Linked DNA regions of Homo sapiens: all the other regions are linked to region 4. Evidence: promoter capture Hi-C in human tissues and cell types (Jung and others, 2019). All regions are on one chromosome and are shown on one strand. The core of a region is centred on a gene start or on the middle of the fragment in contact, and the rest is flanking DNA. Distances in the headings are between cores, read along the strand shown. Region 1 has its middle 72 kb from the start of LINC00561. Region 2 has its middle 90 kb from the start of LINC00561. Region 3 has its middle 120 kb from the start of LINC00561. Region 4 holds the start of KCTD12 (potassium channel tetramerization domain containing 12). Region 5 has its middle 280 kb from the start of LINC00561.

Region 1 (2,700 bases), core at 101-2,600, 880 kb before region 4:
AAAACCCCCAACTTTACTATGTTTTGACAAGTGCTGCAGAATCTTCCTCTAGTTTGCTAAGACAGCCTTATAGAAAAATAACATAATTATGAGAGTGACATCCTGTCACCTTTGACAGATTGGGTTGGTTAGATGCAAGTCTTAGGCTCTGCCTGAACACAAGGAGAGGAGATTATACAAGGGCATGGCTCACTGGGGTGTGTTCACCCCAGTGGGAAATGCAGTTTTTGGTTGCTTAGGCTCTGCGATACACAAATTGGAAGAATTGTTAAGAGAGCCTATCTGTTGTGCCTCCACCCTTATGTTTCAGGACAGGCTAGTGATCCAGTGTGGCTGGAGCCTATGCCCTCTAGGGATGTTTCACTATGGATAAAGCTGGAGAGGTAGGTAGAAGCCCAATTATTAATAAAGTGTCTGGTGTATCGCAGTAAGGAGTAAGGGGAGCCTGTGAACTCTTAATGCAAGGAAACAATAAAATCTGAATTTTGGAAATATTTGGAAAGAAAGTGTATTGGGTTTTTAGTGCTATGCAGTAAGTTACTGTGTAATTGGCAGTGTAAAACAATGCATATTTAATAGCTCACAGTTCTATAGATCAGAAGTTTGTATAGGGTCCTCATTCTACCCATTGGAGCCTTAAGTAACAGACTGGTTACTACATGGCCTTTGAAGTTCATGTATTAGCATATCCTGATATCTGAAGGGGATTTTAAGAAGACAATAAAAACATTGTTGTATACGACTGAGCTCAGGATCCATAATAAGCAATCACACACAACTTTCTACAAGTGGTATGCAGTATATATCTGTATTAGTTCTAATTCTGTATCACTAAGTAGTTGGTGTTTACCTGTAATCTTGGTAGCTGAGAAGCAGTCTTTGACTTCCTAAATTGAGTTCCCCCGCTACCCCGCCCTGCCCTGCTCTTCCTTTCAGCTGTTAGTGCTGGAAAGTCAGATTCTTGGTTCCTGGTCTTCATTCCCCAGTTATGGCCTTTACTTCTGCATTTGCTCAAAACACCATCTTTAATCATCAAGTCTAATGGGTTCCTTTGCTACATCCAGAGTGCTTTGCAAAGTCATGGCTTCCACTTTATGTCTAAAGACCATTTTCCTTCTTTGTTGCACTCTATAACTCAATGGTGATGGTTTTTGCTTTTAAACTAAGGAACATTGGCTATACCTGCAAACACACTCTGTAAAGTGAAATGAACTTGACAATTGAGACAAGGAATAGAAAAATGATTTCGACAAAAATATATTGTTTTACTTATTTCTAGAAGTCCTTCTTTTCATTCTCAGTCTGCTTCTTACTTCACATAGCCTCTTTTTGTATGCTCATCTTTGTGATAACAAAGGAAACACCTTTATTTATTTATATTTCATACACGGCCCTTCTACAAATCTATTGTTCCTACCAACTGTTACTTGTAGTGGCTTGCACTGTGACCTTAGATTTATTGGTGAACATATTGGTTCTGGGGCTCTAACTCAAGCTAGCTTTGGTTTAAATTGTATATGCTTCTGCTGTTACAGATGGCTACCAACTTGTAACTGCATTTGTCTGCTTTGAGGATTTTTTTCTCAGTAGGTGAGAACCAGGCTGTGTTCCTCATCTCTCTGCTTGTCCAAGATTCTGAATTCCAACAGGGTCACCACTTTGCCTTAGTTCAGACCCTTGCTCACTTTATTTTATTTTATTTTATTTTGGTGGTGGTGGTGGGGTTATTCCTAGTGAAAGCTATGATTATTGTGCAGTGGGAGGGGCCCTTTAGTATCTCGATGGACATCACGCTGTATCACAATCAGGCCTTGGATCATGCAGACACAAAGCAATGATTACATTTCATTTGTGATACTATTAAGGATATTTTTCCTGGCTGCAATAACTCAAAATATTTTACTTATTTCCCACTTCATGCACATTGATTTTTTTGGGTAATGGTAGCAGAAAATATGTGATTACCAGAGGAACGTCGATCAAGGCATTGAGGTTAGTGAAGCTTCTAAAAGTAGAAGAAAGCTGAATGTTTATTTTATTTTACTTTTATAAGACATAGGCTAGTAGTGCAGAACAGGAACACTTCCTATTCATTGGTAACAACAAAGACCTTTTAGTCATGGCAAATTACATTCCTAGAAAAGTATTTTAATGGGAATAATTATTTTGACTCTGATTTTCTGTAATAATGCTATATGAAAAATAATACTTCTGATTTGATATTTAAAAATATGCTTCAATAATGTATTGATAGGCATCTAACAAAGGACAGAATTTGTTTTCTCCTCTATTGTGATTTTCTGAACATCTTGTATATTCTTAAAGTAATTGTGTACAAGAATTAGTCTCTGAGGGCATGAACTAAATTTTATTCATCTTTATATCTTTATACACTTTGTATTCCTTGATCCAGTGCCTGGCATACAATAGTTATGCAATAACTATTTGTAAAATAAAAAGCCAAAGAAATATCTGGTTAGAAAAACTTTCTGCAAAAGTAAAGCTTATGATTAAAAAGGAGGGAATTTATTAGCACTAAGACATTTTTCTTAAGCAACAAAATTATCTATCATTACCTTACTCCTTTTGTATCTTTAGTCACTGTAGCTTTGATTATGAATAGAAAACGAATCTCAAATTGAACTATGAGTGAATAGAAATGTTCTTAGGGAGAAGTAGAAAAAGTTTTAAAATTCAACC
Region 2 (2,700 bases), core at 18-2,517, 860 kb before region 4:
TCTAAGGATAAGGAAGCATTTCTTTTTTAAAGGGTGGCCAGAAAAGTCAGCCATTGATGGGTGAAAATTTATTTCTTAAGATCTTAAGCCAAATTTCATATTTGCATTTGAAAAAGCCTTCTCCTTTCTGCACAGTGAGAAAAGTGGTGGGGAAGGGAAGCTACTTGAACTGCTAAGTAATATTTAGTCACTTGGTTCATTTACCAATCTGAAAGCTAAATTGGGGGTCGAAGAGAAAACCATTATAGCTCATTGCTAGGTAGCAGACTTTTTGAAACACTGTATAATTATAGCACTCAGGCCAAAAATATTCCTCAAATGTGTCCTGAAGTATGTTGCCTCAGGTTAAGTAATCTAGTTACAGACACAGTGATTACTATGGTTTTTATGAGCAAGCCTCATACCTTGCTTAGGAACGAGTAGTTCCTTAGGAATGTGTAGATTCCTTAGGAATGTGTAGATGCTTGGTTTGGCACTTCCATGGAAGAGTGGAGAAATGTACATAATGTGAAAGCTCCTGACAAGGTAGTATCTAGTAGTCCACATCTCTTAGAAATGATACAATGTTCATTTCTGCTTAATTGCATGAGAAAGTGAGTGTCAAGTGTTGGATGTTTTGTTTCACCCAAGTTCATATGTTGAAGCCCTGCACCTCAGTGTGATGGTATTTGGAGGTGAGGCCTTTGGGAGGTAACTGGGGACAGATGAGATCATAAGGGTGGGGGCCCCATTATAGGATTAGTGCCCTTATAAGACACTGAGAGATCAGAGCTTTCTCTCTTCCTGCCATGTGAGGATGCAGCTAGAAAGTGACCATCTGCAAGCCACGAAGAGAACCCTTACCAGGAATGGAATCTGCTTGCACCTTGATCTTGAATTTCCTAACCTCTAGAACTGTGAGATACAAATTCCTGTTGCTGAAGCCACTCAGTCTATGGTATTTATTATGGCAACCTGGTCTGACTACTGCAGTGAGTACAAAGTGAAAATATAATAAAAATGTTTAAAATCACCACACCTTTGTTAGTTTCTGGCTTGATTGGAGTGTTATATATAAAGAAAGAAAATGGTAAGCTTTTAAAGCTGCTTGAATGAAATCTTAAAAATTCAGAGAAAAATAATTGATAGATGTTGAATTGTACATGATTGGGGACAACTGTTAAGCTTTTAACTTTCATATACTATATCAGAGGTGGGTCTAAAACCTCAAAGCAATGTAGCATAAATTAATTTTCAAATTTAATTTTTTTCTTCAGAGTTTTGTATAAGATTTTTTATGGCATTAGATAACTTCCAATTACTTAAGACTGTTAAAAAACTCTTATGTTATTTCAACTGAAAGTGAAAGGGGAGAATGCCATTCTAGAAATGTTGTATTTACATAAAATGATAGCAATGTATTTTACATATGTATAAAGAATGGATGGAAAGATGTATGGAATCGGAAACTGAGAAATATCCTTTAAATCAACTTTCTTTAGGAGCTTTACATTGCATTCATAATTGAAAAATTCAAGATTTTCAAGAAAAAAACTAAAACATTTCTCAAGTCAATATTGATCCCCAAACTCAGTTTCATATGCTCGAAGACATTTCCCTCCATTTTTTAAAATGGGAAATCTTAAGCTTCCAAACACTGCATCGAATTTTAATTCAGCTCAGATAACAGTGCATAGAAAACTATGAGTTCCACGTGAGTATTTTTTTTATAGGCACAGAAACAACCAATTTGAAGGACGTTTTTTCTGAAAGTTGAGTGATTCCCCAAGGATCGATCACCTGATTTAATTGAGAAATATGAGCCAGACACTGACTTCTGGTGTGTGTGTGTGTGTGTGTGTGTGTGTGTTTGTGTAATTTCCAAATATGTGGGCACCTTATGTAGATACACATAAGATTCAACTAGGCATCTTATCTTAAAAATCACTCAAAAGTAAAATAACTTTATACAAAGTTGGAATATCAATCGAAAGCATATACGCCACAACAGAAGAACTATTCCACTCCTATGTAAAGCCAAATGACCCTCCCGTGCTCCGAATTTTATTCCCTGTTTGCTGACTTGACTCCTATAATTTTAATTTCTCTGTCTTGCATCATCAACTTCTTCCTCTCTAATGAACATTTCTATTAGCTTAAAAATGGCGTATTTCCTATCTTTGAAGAAAGTTCTTCCTGTTCTTCCTCTTCAGCTACTGATTAATTTCTCTGTTCTTTGTGGAAAAGTTCCCTGAAGGAGCTACGTAAACCTATCACCTTGACCCCCTTATTTTCTTGTCTCTCTTTATCATATTCCACTTAGACTTGTGTCTTCATCACTCTAACCACATTTGTTATTGCCATCCATGGTTAATTCCAAGTTCTTAATTGATTTCTCAGAAACTTTTTGCTTTCTCCTAATTAGTATGTAAATTCTTTTTTCCCAGCTGTATTGAGACCTAATTGATAAATAAATTATATATATTTAAAGTGTACTACTTGATGTTTTGATATTCATATACATAGTGAAATGACATCTAAATCAAGCAAACAACATTTCCATTACCTTACATAATTACCATGTTCTTTCTCTCCCTTTGTTTTTCTCTTTCTTTACTTCTTTCTTTCCCGAGAACACGTAAAATCATCCCTTTTGGTAAATTTCAAGTGTGCAATAGATTATTGCCAGGTATAGTCACCTTGCTCTATATTAGATCTCAG
Region 3 (2,700 bases), core at 142-2,641, 830 kb before region 4:
TTTTAAAAATTGAAATAATATAAAGCACCTATGTTAACCACAATGGAATAAACTACAGATCAATAATAATAACAATTTTTGAAACTGTACAGATGTGCAAATTAAACAATGTGCTTCTGAATGAACTGTGAGCCAAACAAAAAACTGAGGAAAAATTTTACAATTTTCTTGAAACAAATGGTAGTGAAAACACAAGACCAAAACCTATAGGATACAGCAAAAGCAGTACTAAGAGGGAATTTTATAACTATAAGCACCTACATCAAAAAGAAGAAAAACTTCAAATAAACAACCTAACAATGCATCTCAAGTAACTAGGAAACCAAAACCAAAATTAGCAGAAGAAAGAAATGATAGTGAATAGAAATAAGTGAAATTGAAAGGAAGAAAACAATACAAAAGATGAATGAAAAAAAGTGGTTTTTTTAAAAAAGTTAAAAACATTGCCTAACCTTTAGTTAGGTTAAGAAAAAAAAAAGAGAGAAGACCCAAATAAATAAAATCAGAGGCGAAAAAGGAGACATTACAATTGATACTGCAGAAATTCAAAGGATCATTAGTGGCTACTATGAGCAGCTATATGCCAATAAATTGGAAAAATCTAGAAGAAATGGATAAATTCCTAGAACATACAACCTACCAAGATTGAACCATAAAGAAATCTGAAACCTGAACAGATCAATAACAAGTAATGAGACCAAAACCATAACAAAAATTCTCCTAGTAAAGAAAAGCCCAGGACCCAATAGCTTCACTGATGAATTCTACCAAACATTTAAATAACAAATAGCAAATCCTACTCAAACTATTTCAAAAAATAGAGGAGGAGGAGATACTTTGAAACACATTCTACAAGGCCAGTATTACCCTGATAACAAAACCAAACAAGGACACAGAAAACAAGAAAACTAAGGCCAATATCTCTGATGAATACTGATGCAAAAATCCTAAAGAAAATACTAGCCAACTAACTTCAACACAACATTCCAAAGGTCATTTATGATGATCAAATTATGTTTATCCCAGGGATGCAAGGATGGTTCAACATATGCAAATCAATCAATGTTATACATCATATCAACAGAAAGAAGAACAAAAACTGTATAATCATTTCAATTGATGCTGAAAATCATTTGATAAAATTCAACATCCCTTCATGATAAAAACCCTCAAAAACTGGAACATACCACAACACAATAAAAAGCTGTAAACAATAGACCCACAGCTATATCATACTGGATGTGAAAACCTGAAAGCCTTTTCTCTAAGATCTGGAACAAGACAAAGATGCTCACATTCACCACTGTTATTCAAAATAGTACCAGATGTCCTACCTAGAGCAATTAGACAAGAGAAAGAAATAAAGGGCATTCAAATTGAAAAGGAAGAAGTGAAATTATTCTTGTTTGCAGATTACATGATATTATATTTGAAAAAACCCCAAGACACTGCAAAAAACCTATCAGAACTGATAAATTCAGTAAAGTTGCAGGATGCAAAATGAACATACAAAAAATCAGTAGCATTTCTGTATGCCAGCAAGAAACAATCTGAGAAAGAAATCAAGAAAGTAACCCCACTGTCAATAGCTACACATAAAATGCAATAGCTAGGAGTTAACCAAAGGAGAGAAGATCTCTACATTGAAAACTATAAAATACTGATGCAAAAAATTGAAGAGGATCAAAAATATGGAAATATATGCCATGATTCTGGAATAGAAGAATCAATATTGTTAAAATGTTCATACTACCCACAGTTTCAATGCAATCCCTATCAAAATACCAATGATATTCTTCATAGAAATAGAAAATCCAATTCTAAAATTTGTGTGGAACAACAAAACACCCAGAATAGCCAAAGCCATCATAAGCAAAAGGAAAAAAACTGGAGGAATCACGTTTCCTGACTTCAGATTATACTACAGAGCTACAGTCCCCCAAATAGTATGGTACTGGCATACAAAGAGACACACTGACCAATAGAGATTAATATTCTCTATTCTCAACACAGTGGAGAACCCAGAAGTAAATCTATACATCTGCAAGTGAACTCATGTTTGACAAGGTACCAAGAACATACACTGGGGAAAGGACAGTCTCTTCAATAAATGGTACTGGGTAAACTGGATATCCATGTGCAGAAGAATGACACTAGACCCCCATCTGCAGCGTATACAAAAATCAATTAAAATGGACTTAAAGACTTAAATCTTAGCCCTCAAACTATAAAACTAGTAAAAGAAAGGGCTGGGAAAACTTTCCAGGACATTGATCTGGGCAAAGATTTCTTTAATAATATGCTACAAGTGGCTGGGGGCAGTGGCTTACGCCTGTAATCCCAGCACTTTGGGAGGCCGAGGCGGGTGGATCATGAGGTCAGGAGATCGAGACCATCCTGGCTAACATGGTGAAACCCCGTCTCTACTAAAAAACACAAAGAATTAGTCGGGCGTGGTGGTGGGTGCCTATAGTCCCAGCTACTTGGTTGGCTGAAGCAGGAGAATGGCGTGAACTGGGAGGCGGAGCTTGCAGTAAGCCAAAGATCGTGCCACTGCACTCCAGCCTGGGCGACAGAGGGAGACTCTGACAAAAAAAAAAAAGCCACAAACACAGGCAATCAAAGTAAAAATGGACAAATAGAATCACATCAAGTTAAAAACCTCTGCACAGCAAAAGAAACAACAAAATGAAGAGACAA
Region 4 (2,700 bases), core at 1-2,500:
AGGGGGTCTGGGGAGCTCACTCCCTGCAGAAGACGTACTCGGTGTAGCTGGTCCAGATCTTGTCCTCGCTCTGGTCGGTGCTGCTGGCAAAGGCGCAGGTGCCCGTGGAGCTGCACGCCACCATGTGGAAGCCCGACTCGGACAGCTTGTCGAAGGCCTGCTCCAGGAAGTTGAACTTGAGGTAATAGCGCGAGGTGTAGCGCTCCGGGGGACGGTCGGGGTCCCGGCTTTCGTTCAGGGTGTCCCCAAACACCTCCTTGGCCAGCGACGTCTTTCCGCAAACGGTGATGCGCGCCACTCGCCGGAACTTGGCGTCCGCCTGCGCGTCCCGCCCGATGGTGTAGGAGCCGCGGTAGCCGATGGTGATGTAGCCCGAGCGCCGGCTGCCGTCCAGCGACTGGGACGGCGTGAGCAGCGGGCCCGCCGCGCCCCCGGACGGACTGCGGCTAGCCAGCTCCAGCGTGGGCGACGGCGCCCCGGCAGAGGCGCCCTCCTGCTGTTCGGGCTCCGAGTAGCCAAGCGGCAGCAGCTCGTCACCCAGCGAGCCCTCCTTGTGCACCCCGCGCCGCGAGGGCGGCGGCCCCGGGCCGGGCTGCTGGGGCGCCCCGAGGCGGCGCACGAGCTCTGGCAGCTCGAAGTACTCGGCCTCGCGCTGCAGCCGGCTGCGCTCGGGGAAGTAGTCGGGCAGCACGAGCTGCAAGTCCCGCAGGTAATCCAGGATGTAGCGGAAGAGGAAGCCGTCCCGGTCCAGAAAGAAGCGGCCTTTGCTGTCCCGGGCCAGCTCCTGCGGCTGCTGCTGCGTGAACATGCGCCAGAGCAGCGAGTCGGGCACCGACACCACCGTGCAGCGCCGGGTCACGTACACCTGGCCCCCCACGTTCAGCTCCACGATGTCGGGGAAGAGCGGTGGCTCCGCGGAGGACGACGAGGAGCCACTGCCGCCCCCGCCGCCGCCCCCGTTGGGTAATCCACGTGTGCTGTCCGCCAGAGCCATGACAGAGAGGTGGCCGGGCCGGGACAGTGGCAGGAAGCCGCGCTGCACTCAGGAGCTGCAACCGCCTTCCCCGGAGCCCCGGAACCCGGACGCTCGCTCAGCCCTGCGCCCCGCCGCCGCCGCCGCCGCCACCGCCGCCACCGCCACCGCCGCCACCTCCTAGAGCCGCGCGGAGCCGAGCGGTGCGAGCGCGCCGCTGTGCGCCCCCTTGAGTTCCAGTGCGCTCCGCCCGCCTTGCCCGCGCGCTCCAGGCGAGTGCCGGGTCGCGGCCCGCGCGCTGCTTAAGTAGAGCCGCCTGCTCTGGTGCCGTGGCGCGCAGGAGGCGTGGGCGGCGGCGGAGCCTCGCTTACCGGGCGAGGGGAGGTGGGGAGCGGGGACTCGATTTGCATCTTAAACGCGGACGCCACGCGGGGCTGCTGGCTCCACCCCGGCTCGCGAGCGCTGGGGGCGCCCGGACTCCCACCCGCTCCCCACCCACCAGCCCCGCCCCGTGGTCCCGCCCAACTTTCTCCCTCTTCCGAAGAGGACCCGCCCGAGACTTGGCGGCTTCGGAAGACAGCTCCTTGGAGGGACAGTCACCGCGCCCCCTCCCCTCTCGCCCCAGCCCGCACCCAAGGACTCTGGAAGGAGGACGTGAACTTTCGGAAGCCTGTCGCCCCGGGAGTGGAAATGCGTGGCCGCCTCCGGCCCTCCCGCCTGCGGAACTGGGCGCTTCCAGCAGTGCAGCTGCGGCCTGCCATCGTTGGTTGTCGTGTCACTGAAAGTAGAGAGACGCGAAAAACCTGGAGAGACGAAAGAGCCGCCCCAGTCCGAGCGCAGCCAGATTTTGTTCAAGTTGCCTTGCAGCCAGCCTGGAAAATAAATAAATAAACCTAGAAACAAAAAGCAAACCTCAGTGTCCCGCAGTAGGATGCTTTACGATAGTTTATTTTCTGGCTGCAGAGACAAAATGAGATGAAGCTTCAAATCTGCTCTTAATTGCAATTCCCTCTTCCCGCAGGGCCTTCGAGGCACTTCACTTCGAAGTGAAGGGGTAAGACTCCGGAACGTTCGGTCTCCGGGTCCCATTCAGCCTTCGTTGAATCGCGCCCTTAGACTCACAACAGTTGCAGATCTAACGTAATTTTTAAAGCCACCTTTGGCGCCTGCATGTTTATCCTTCCAAAAGTCCAGGCGCCCCTTCTCTCCCGCATGCCTCGGTCACTCTTCGGCCCTGTCCAAGTTCCCGTCAGTCTCAGAAAGGGATATTTATATATCTGAAGGCCCTTGTCTGGATCCCATCTCTCAACTCCTGCTGCCTACACGTTTGCTTTTCCCCCTCGGACTGCAGCCCACAGAACCGCCCCCTCCCCCTGGAAGCTTTCCCTGGCTTCCCAGGTGGGTGGGGCCTCTGGATGGCTCCCTACACACTGTCTGCGCTGCTCCCAGCACGTTCTGAAATGTCATATTTATGAGTGATTATCTGATCACTGATTTGGGTATGAAAATAAGTAAGAGCTCCTGAATGCTGCAAAAAGAGAAGAGTGCAGAGGAGGGTGTCAAGAAATGATTGGGTCACTGAATGTTTCTTGTGTACCTGCTATTATTTGCAGGGCACCAGGGAGTGAGGAATGCAAAGGCGAATAATCTCCAAAGCGCTTTCAGTGTAGCCCAATAAGCAAAGGGTCAGGGGTCTGCGCAGTTATCACATCAGTTTGAAGTATAGA
Region 5 (2,700 bases), core at 148-2,647, 670 kb before region 4:
AGATCTTTTTTAAATCACAAAATAAATATATTAAATGTATTAATATACTTAAAAATATAATTGGAAAAATGTACTAATGGTCTAAGCAGTGTATAAAGCATATTTTAATGTATTTTCACTTGATCCTTGATAAGTCTAAGCAGGAATAAGAATTATGTCATTTGGATCTCTAAGGATTTATCTTAAGAATTTGATAAACATCAAATCCATGATTGCCGTTATCTTAAAATAACTTACTCAATTAGTTTTAAGTGTGTGCAGAGGGGCAGGGTACAGAAATGGGATCACTCTGCATGAATGATGCATAGCTTTTGGCTTGCTAACAAGAGCTATAAAGTAGGAATGGAGGGTGTCAGCATGCACACACACCATCACACAGCTGCTGCTTGCAAATTGGAAAGAAAAATATTACCAGGCGAGCATTAGCAAAGCTAAACCAGAATTTCAACATTGCCAAAACCCCAAAGAATCATCAGAGAGGAAAGGAAGAAATGAACCAAGAATGAAATATTTGAATATTTGAATGCAGCATTGTGTGCAAAGGACTGAATTCTTTAAAAGATTTATTTAAAATACCTACAAATCAGAAACAAAATATTTTTATGAAATGCTCAGTTTAACCATGAAAGGTGTCTCTTTGCCTCAGACAAAATTCAAATTCTGTACATGTTCTATTATCACATAGTTTTTTTTCTGGCCAAAATTGTTCATAAAAGCAGGGATAGGTAGATTTCTACAGTAACCACATTTTATTATTTAATATATTCAGAATATTCCCCTAAGGCGAGGTCAGGAGAGAGGAATATTTTCTGTCATTTGTGCATTTATTCCAAACAGACATCCTGAGTTCCAGTCCCCATTCTTTGTGACCAGCTGTGTAGACTTGGATAAGATCATTAACCAATCATCAGTTTCCCCATGTGAAAGGGGATAATAGTAACACCCATCTCATTGGCTTGTTATGAGGATGAAGGTAAATAATTCCAGTGATTTGCTTTGCACTATGACTAGCACATAGTGACCACTCAAAACATGATGGCTATTGTTATTAGCCAGGGATCCTGCCCTCAAAGATAGAAGATCAAGTAGGAAAAGATAGTAAAATTCACATCCAATGCAAAGTAAAATAAGGTAAAAGCATAAACAATGAGGAAATTCAGAAAAGGAAGCAATCTCATTTACAATGGCAGATAGAAGAGGACGTAATGAAGAATGGTGCAAAGAGAATGGAGAAGACCACAAAAAACAGAGTGGAAAGAACATGTTCATCCTTGTCTGCCCATTGTAGTTGGACAGGGGTGGTGATTTGACTCAGCCATTGAGACCAAACCACTCCTAGAAGTTGGAACTCTAGTGTTCTCAGCATTCAAAATCCTGCAGCAGGACTAGAATGGAGGAGAGAAAGTAATTCACTTACGGTTTAATCTGAGAAAGCTTTTGGAAAGTTTGCTAGTTGGTATTATACTAGTATTCAATAAAATCATAGTATTTGTTTCTCAAGAAAGGGAGTAGGATTTCCTTCCCGGTTCTGTAAAATTATTCCCTTTTGGAGCACTGTTTCCAATGATCACTTTTGAAAATGACTTCAGGTATTTATGAACTATCCTAGTTAATGCTATATCTTTAATCTTTGAGAGAAGATTGATTTTTTTCTTAACTGAAATCCTTCTGAACCAAATATTGATCATATCAACCACTATGATATTTTTGGTTAATAACTAAGTGTTTCTCTAATAAAATATAATCTTCTTATTCATTTTTTTTTTTTTACAACTTGTACATTATCTCTCAAGTCATTATGTTCGTTTGGACCGTGCATATTTTAGTATGCTAATTAACTCACCTAATGCCATTACTTTATCATCTTATTTTTTATATATGCCTATGGTGAGAAATTGATAGACATGACATAATTATCAGAGAATGAATATATGTAGAATGATACATCTCACGATTGTTACATGGGACTTCTTTGTGATTCAGAAAATTTTTGCCCAAACCATGAAAGATCCCCTACTTGCTACAAAGAGATAATGACCAGATTTTATCACCACCAATTTGACCCAGCATCTGCATCTTCTATGTACCTTCTCATTGTTCCTGTTCTGTCCATCTTCAGCTGGCTCGTTATAGACTATAGGACAGCTATAGTCCATAAGTCCCCTGACAGCTCCCCACAACTCACCAACACATTTGTCTCTGTTCCAATCATCAGTTTCCAGTCTTGATGTGTTAATGTGGTAATGTATGTGACATACTGATTTTAGAATTAAAGATTTTAATATAAGAAAAGATGTAACACCACAATCACATTCAATTCCTTCAACAACCAACAAATCCATTACCATATTTTAAAGCAACAGAAGGTTAAAATTAGAACAAGTTGAGTAAATCCTAAAGCAAGCAAGAATACTTTTGTCTGGGCCAAATTGATGAATGTTTTGTTCACATCTTTTAATCTAGCTTAGTGAGTCTCAGATTTATAGAGTATGAGAATCACTGTATATTATGGGTGATTTAAGGGATTTCCTAGGGTGATTTGAAATAGATTTTATTTTGGTCTCATCTCTGATTTTAGAACTAATGTTCCCCCACTTATCCTTCCCCCCAACTCTGCCCCTACATGCAAGGTTTATCTCCACCTTGACCTCAAGTCTTTATAATGGTATGCCTTAGAAGTGGGCCACATTCCTGAATCCT

Evidence for each region. Contacts are between HindIII fragments. The study calls those that stand out against the background at their distance.
Region 1: a fragment that was not itself captured here is called in contact with the fragment with the promoter of KCTD12 in region 4 in 2 of the 25 tissues and cell types used here (H1 embryonic stem cells and dorsolateral prefrontal cortex).
Region 2: a contact is called between a fragment that was not itself captured here and the fragment with the promoter of KCTD12 in region 4, in 2 of the 25 tissues and cell types used here (bladder and stomach).
Region 3: a contact is called between a fragment that was not itself captured here and the fragment with the promoter of KCTD12 in region 4, in 4 of the 25 tissues and cell types used here (H1 embryonic stem cells, dorsolateral prefrontal cortex, heart right ventricle and 1 more).
Region 5: a contact is called between a fragment that was not itself captured here and the fragment with the promoter of KCTD12 in region 4, in 3 of the 25 tissues and cell types used here (dorsolateral prefrontal cortex, heart left ventricle and mesenchymal stem cells).

Annotation. Positions count from the first base shown.
Region 1 is chr13:76,005,948-76,008,647 of GRCh38, forward strand. No RefSeq gene overlaps it. Among named protein-coding and RNA genes, the nearest start is that of LINC00561, 72 kb to the left of the region's middle. The HindIII fragment of the contact is 3,533 bases long and covers 1-2,700 here.
Region 2 is chr13:76,023,482-76,026,181 of GRCh38, forward strand. No RefSeq gene overlaps it. Among named protein-coding and RNA genes, the nearest start is that of LINC00561, 90 kb to the left of the region's middle. The HindIII fragment of the contact is 3,338 bases long and covers 1-2,700 here.
Region 3 is chr13:76,055,514-76,058,213 of GRCh38, forward strand. No RefSeq gene overlaps it. Among named protein-coding and RNA genes, the nearest start is that of LINC00561, 120 kb to the left of the region's middle. The HindIII fragment of the contact is 9,741 bases long and covers 1-2,700 here.
Region 4 is chr13:76,885,155-76,887,854 of GRCh38, forward strand. KCTD12 (potassium channel tetramerization domain containing 12) reads right to left here and starts at 1,251. Exons shown (of 1, transcript NM_138444.4): 1 at 1-1,251. The coding sequence starts at 994. The coding sequence ends at 17. RefSeq lists an enhancer at 266-765 and silencers at 379-648, 1,049-1,478. The HindIII fragment of the contact is 7,826 bases long and covers 1-2,153 here.
Region 5 is chr13:76,216,582-76,219,281 of GRCh38, forward strand. No RefSeq gene overlaps it. Among named protein-coding and RNA genes, the nearest start is that of LINC00561, 280 kb to the left of the region's middle. The HindIII fragment of the contact is 6,147 bases long and covers 1-2,700 here.